Linked DNA regions of Homo sapiens: region 1 is linked to region 2. The links are contacts of gene promoters, found by promoter capture Hi-C in blood cells and fetal thymus (Javierre and others, 2016). All regions are on one chromosome and are shown on one strand. The core of a region is centred on a gene start or on the middle of the fragment in contact, and the rest is flanking DNA. Distances in the headings are between cores, read along the strand shown. Region 1 overlaps EFHC2 (EF-hand domain containing 2). Region 2 holds the start of NDP-AS1 (NDP antisense RNA 1).

Evidence for each region. Contacts are between HindIII fragments. The CHiCAGO score rates a contact against its expected background, and 5 or more counts as called.
Region 1: a fragment that was not itself captured here is called in contact with the fragment with the promoter of NDP-AS1 in region 2 in 1 of 17 cell types (monocytes); the score reaches 5.3 in monocytes.

The regions. Positions count from the first base shown.
Region 1 is chrX:44,197,381-44,200,773 of GRCh38, forward strand. All of the region lies in intron 11 of EFHC2 (EF-hand domain containing 2), which reads right to left. Among named protein-coding and RNA genes, the nearest start is that of EFHC2, 140 kb to the right of the region's middle. The HindIII fragment of the contact is 1,280 bases long and covers 651-1,930 here.
Region 2 is chrX:43,948,333-43,951,602 of GRCh38, forward strand. It overlaps NDP-AS1 (NDP antisense RNA 1), which reads left to right and starts at 1,400. Exons shown (of 6, transcript NR_046631.1): 1 at 1,400-1,748. NDP (norrin cystine knot growth factor NDP) reads right to left here. Exons shown (of 3, transcript NM_000266.4): 3 at 444-1,694. The coding sequence ends at 1,467. RefSeq lists enhancers at 1,077-1,594, 1,595-2,111. The HindIII fragment of the contact is 3,781 bases long and covers 1-1,915 here.

The sequences.
Region 1 (3,393 bases), core at 41-2,540, 250 kb after region 2:
TAAATAAAATGAGTTCAAAGAGGCAAGGATTACTCTGAGCTGCAGTGGTAAGGAACATCTTAAGAGAAGAAATATAATTTAGTTCATGTCTTCAGGAGCAGGCAGAAGAAACTGGACAGCAAAGGAGAGACCCCTCCAAAATGGTGTGGGAAGAGAGTGACCCAGATTGGCAGCACAGAACCAGCAGTCCAAGGCCACAGATGAGGCTGGCACTCCCAAAAGGCAGCTCATTCACCTCTGAGCCTCTGTCATCCACCATGGGACCCAATACAGAGCACATGCACAATATATGTTTATTGAATGAAGAAAGAATAAACTTACATGATTAAACACTGTACTATGTGGCACGCCTTCCATACCCAGTACTTTGAGTTGCAAAATTTACTTGAATGAAAAGCAGCCTGGCAGGGCCTGCCCTATGGTGGCCCAAGTGCCATTACCCTCCTGCCCTGCGGTATCCTCTCATTTTATATCCTAATTTTTACATCACAATTCTCCCTCTGAGGAACTACAAATTAGCATTTACTTACTGCTCCCATTTTTAAACACAAAATTTGCAATCTAATTAAAGAAGAAATCATGGGTGGCACTAACCAGGTCATTTGTTAGCAACTAAATGGCTATATAGCGGCCTTGCTTTTATTCATAGAAGCTTCATTTAGAAAACAGACCATTAGAACACTGTATTTTGGATGAAACAGTAGTTTCACTGTTAATGATTTCCTCATTTCCACAAGAATATAATCATGGAAAAAGAAATAAAATAAACACAATATAAATATATATGTATATATAAAACCCCAGAAAAAGAGTTGGTCCTTTTTCCACTCTTTAGAAACATAAGAAACACTCTATCTGTTTTGGCACAACATTATATGATTTATTTATTCTAAAATGCCAATAATTTTTTCTAGCGTCCCATAAAATTCAAGGTTATAAGAATGGATGTGCTTCAAAAATAGAAAGAGAGAAGCCTAAGCGTGATTAAGATTTTTAAATAGTGGAACTGATTTTAACTAGGCCTATACGATCACAGCCAAATCCAGTTTAGCATAGGTATTAATAATAAAGTGACATTCCCTAATAATAACGTGTCTAGTCAGTATTTTCCCCAGTGTAATTTTAGAGAGTCTTATGGCATGGGAGAGAGATTGTGCATGGCAAAATGGTAGACTAGGCAGCAATTAAAACTCACACTCCTGGCTGAGCTTGTGAAAACAGAGAGAAATGTCCCCAGGTACCAACGCGAAGAGGTAGCTGACAGCCAGAGAGGAAGATGAACAAGCTAATAGGTGGCAGCAGGATGAGAGGTAGTTGGGGTGGGGAGGAAGTGGGATCAAACCCTTTAGCAGGTAAGAGCTTAGATTTTTTAACACTCACCAGGGCACAAACGACAAGACCTCCAGTCCAGGAGAGTAGCAATTGGGAACTCCTACACATTAAACCTATGCATAAAGCTAGAACTGTAAAAGGCTGCAAGTGAAGTGAAAGAATTAATAAATTCTACCCATTGGACAAGAGAGATGACAATGAGGCTTTTCTCTGCTGAGTCTCTAGGTATAAAAAAAATAAGTTATCTGATAGAAATCAAAGCCAATATTCCACCTAATAAGAATTTGGAGTATAAATTTATTTTGCCCACTTACTATATAAAGCTCTGATACAGTTCACATGTTTGTCCCCTCCAAATCTCACATTGAAAGGTAATCCCCAGCGTTGGAGGTGGGGCCTGGTGGGAGGGATTTGGATCATGGAGGCAGATCCCTCATGAATGGCTCAGCGCCATCCCCTCAGTGATGAGTGAGCTCTCGCTCTGAGATCACATGAGATCTGCTTGTTTAAAAGAAGTTGACACCTCCTTACTCTCTCTCTTGCTCCCTCTTACCATGTAATATGCCAGCTCCCCACTTTGCTTTCTGCCCTGATTGTAAGCTTCCTGAGCTCTCACCAGAGGCAGATGCTAGCACCACACTTCGTGTACAGTCTGAAGATCCATAATCCAAAATTAACATTTTTTCTTTATACATTACCCAGCCTCAGGTATTCCTTTATAACAAAAAAAATTGACTAATCCATGTTCCAAGGCAATTAATTAACATCAAAATTAACATGAAATTAGACCAGTTTATAAGCTAGCCTGGAAAGGTAAAATCAAAATTACTCAAAGAGTTCTATTGCCAGATGCTAAAATTAGCAGGTGAGTTTGAGAAAAAGTAGGGTTTGCATAGTCTCAAAGTGTCTCTTTCAAGGTATTTATTAAATGCAAAAGGAAAGATAGTAACTTTCCAATGGAGAAAGCTGGCAGACATTACCTGAATCAAGTGATCAAGGCCAACATCACCAGTAGTAAGACATACTGACATCATGAACCACTTGATATGATGTTCTAAGAAGGAGACAACATCATTTCTGTGGTATTCTTTCCAAAAGTGTATAATCTCAGTCCAACTATGAGAAAACATCAGACAACTCCAAATTGAACAACATTCTACAAAATAATTGACCACTATTCTTAAAAAGTATCAAGGTCATAAAAGACAAAGAAAGGTTGAGGAACTGTTACAGACCACAGAAGACTAACATGAAACAACTACTAAATGCAATGTGGGATCCTGGATAGGATCCTGGGACAGAAAAATGACAGTGAAAAATTGGTAAAATTCAAATGAAGTTTTTAGTCTGTAGAACTGTCCCAGTGTTAATTGTTTGGGTTTAATAATTACACTGTGGTAAGATGTTAACATAGAAAAAGCTGGGTGAGGGAAATATGGGAACTCTAGTTTGGTAAATTTTCTGTAAGTCTACAATTAGTTCAAAATAAAAGATTTTTTAAAAACTACTCTAAATGGTCAACCCAAGCAACAAAGGAACAATGAAGTGGAGGAAGAAAGTCCAATTTAAGATGAGCTCAGAAAACAAAAGGAAACAATCCACCCTAAGTCAGCAGATATAACAGAAAAATTGGCATTCCATGAATTTGGGACAATAGAACAAAAATCAGTAATGAACCATGAAATTATGATGTTTAAAATTATTAAAGAGATAAAACACAGAGAAGCCATAAGAAAAGAACAAGATGCTACGGAAAAGGATGGAAACATGAAACACAACAATTAAATAGTACTTAAAGAATAAGAAGGCAGAGTCACTGAATCAATGAACTAGATGGGAGATTTAAGGAAAATTCCAGAAATGTAGCAGCACAGAATGAAAAATAAATGAAAAGAATGAAAGATCAAAAGACATGGAGAAAAAAGAGGAGTTTGACAGGATATTAAGAGATAACAAGAACAGGTTGAGAGTTTGAGAAGGAAAACAGGCAAAATGAACAAGAGAAGTTATTTGAAGAGATAATGGCTCAGAATAATTCTCAAACTGAAGAATTATAAATAG
Region 2 (3,270 bases), core at 150-2,649:
CCCAGTAATATCATTCGATCCTGAGCACTGCACAGTCAATGGCACAGAAATGTTGTTAACTATTTGTCCTTCTGCTGGTTCTTCCAACTTCACTTATGGATATTTATTTTCTTCTGAGAAAAGTGAAGAAATTAAAAAGGAGGGGACTCCTCTGTTTCATTCCATAGCTTCCAAGGAAGCCAAAATGCATTAGATTTTGTGTTTATTCAATGGGCTAAAATCTAAAACTCAGAGTCAAATTTAATAAGCCCTCAACACCTTGTTACATTGATTTCAAAAAAATGTTCCCACAATGCATTCTGGAACCCCATTTCTGTCTCCTTTTTTTTTTTTTTGACTCTTTTACTATATCATAGGAGATGCTCAAGCACTAGCTACATGTATGTTCTAGTCCACATGATAGTAGGATATCAAGTAGGAAAAAAATACTTAAACAGTCAAAATTTTGAATATACTCTTTTTATTTCAAAACGTGGGAATAACTCAAAATTTGAGCCTCCAGGACCAAAACACATTTGAACCAAACGTTCAGAAGACAAGCCAGGCCACCATTTTGGCAACATGTTTCACATGGACAAGTGGATATTAGAGAATGATGCCCGTGACACGGCTAAAGCTATAGCACACCCACAAATAGATTCATACTTGGTTGTCTAATTTGCATGCATGAGTATGGTGCATTCTCCATGCCACTAGTACATATATGCCTTTTCCAGAGTCAGTGCAGGATCCGTATTTGTGCAAGTCTTTAAAAGTCTGCTCCCTTACAAAATTTTACCATAATTTATCTGAGACAGCCTTCCTGTGACAAATTCTTTATGCTGCTTTTACTTTCAAAAAGTCATTTCTGAATAATAATTATAGCTGTCAAGAGTTCCAGCATCACATAAAAGAATCTGTTTGTTAGTTATTTTAATGTCAGTTCGCTGGCTGTGAGTAAACGTAGCTAAACATATCCACATGCTTGGTATCTGGACTTTGAAATCGGTAACCTTTAGCAGCAATGGCAACCTTAGACCAAAATGACAAGGTAAAAAAAAACATCAACAATAACAGAAGATGTCCCAGGAAAAGCTGGGCTTTTCTACTTTCCAAAGTAAATTCTTCCCCAGCGTGCACCAAACACTGACAGCCTGACACGCTTGTGTATGAGGGCCCACTTTTTCCCACTAATGCTGAATTGTTGGAAACCCAAACAGCATTGAGAGCCAAGGGGGAAAATGCCTGAATCTGAAAATGAACCAAAAGAAATTGTACCAGAGAAAGGAGATGGGAACTGCAAAGAAGTTCCCAGAGTATCTCTCTCTGTCAACAAGCATGTAGAGTCTTTATTACTAGAATATGCAGAGTCCCGGGAGAATTGTTGCATCCTTTTTTGCCTTAACTCTTTTCTTGCCAGTCTTTCCCTGGCTGGTCGAACTGCCTCTACAGTTGTCCCATCCAGAAGCCACACACAGCAGCGGGCCTCAGGAATTGCATTCCTCGCAGTGACAGGAGAGGATGTACCGGTAGGTGGCAGTGAGTCGCATGCCCCCTGAGCATCGCAGCCGCAGTGCCTTCAGCTTGGAAGTCTGGGGCCGGCAGCAGTGACAGGAGGAACGGAAGGGTTGCTTGAGGACAGTGCTGAACGACACCAAAGGCTCGGAGCGTGACGCCTGGCTGCAGTGCCCCTCGCACCTGGCCAGGAGCACCATCTGGGGAAAGAAAAGGAGGTGGTTACTCTGTGGGCATGCCACAACCTTAGCCAGGTAAAACAGCATCTTTTGAAAGACCCTCACACTCGTTGCCAATTCCTGCTAGATTAGACCAGTGGCTCAATGCATGTTGCATTTTTTTTAAGTCAACACCCAGGCCTCATTCAGATCGATTGAATTAAAATCCTTGGAGATAGGGACCAGGCTTTCATGGTTTTCAAAGCTTCTTAGGTGATTTCTAAGTGTACTGAGGGTTTAGAACCACTGAATGACGCCCATCACTGTGATGTGCGAGTAAAAACCAAAGAACAAAAGAAATTTCTCCTGACAGGTAGTGGTCTACCACTGGCCCAATGCATTGCAATTCTACCAGTAGCAAAATGCAGAAAGTCAATCCAAATTGAAACCAAGAAGTAAATTAAAATGACTACCAAAAAAAAAAAAAAAAAAAAGAAATTGATTTGTGCAGGAAATAGCTAAAGAACAGGAATATAGTTTCTGAATAAGAAAATAGGATAGCCTGAGTAATGCTTAGGAAGAAATATTCTGGGTGCTGCAATTTGGGACAAGAGAATGAAGTAGAGACAGGGCATGTCTGGGGCCCTGAAATCACACTTCTGGGTTTATATGTTGAAGGAGCCTGGGATTTATGTAATTGCATCCGCATCTTCAGAGTCATTTGCGGCAAATATTAGGATGTACCCATTCTGATAATCTCTATTTCCAAAGATTGGGCTGGAATAACGGAGGCTATGTGTTCTTTATAGTAGCTCTTAATCTGGCTTTAGCAAACAGACACCTTTAAGAATCTGATGAAAACTACCAAAGTTATCCCCAGAAAAATGTACATAAGCACACACACAATTTGCATACAGCTTAACGGAATGGAAAAAAGGATCATTTATGTATCCCATACAAAACTCCTGGTATCCTGGGAGTGGGAGTAATAGGTGGGTAGGGTGGGACAGCTTGACTCATTAAGCTGCATAATCCTAATATCAAGGTGGGGAGGGGAATGGAGAATCTGAGATTATTGGTCCCATGGTTATGTAAGAGGTTTTGCTTGGTGAATTTCATGTTAAGTGATGGAGAAAAAAATCCCCTGGGCCAGGTGTATTGTCTCATGCCTATAATCCCAACACTTTGGAGTCTGAGGCAGGAGGATCACTTGACCCCAGGAGTTTGAGACCAGCCTGGGCAACATAGCATGACCGTGTCTCTAAAAAAAAAAATAAAAAGTTAACCAGGCGTGGTGATGTGCACCTGTAGTCCCAGCTACTTTGGCAGCTGAGGCAGGAGGATCACTTGAACCCAGGAATTAGAGGCTGCAGGAAGCTATGATCAAGCCACTGTACTCCAGCATGAGTGACAGAGCAAGGCCCTGTCTCAAAAAGAAAAGAAAAGAAAAGAAAAATTTGTCCTATAATTCCAGAACCAACAGCAAGATCATAAAAAGTGAAACTGTTCAAATGAAAGATTAAAAGATACATATATATGCATGAAACCTTTTGACGTTTACCTTACAATATTGTAGGAATTCGCAGTTATTATTAAAGACTCACCAGCTATTATCTCT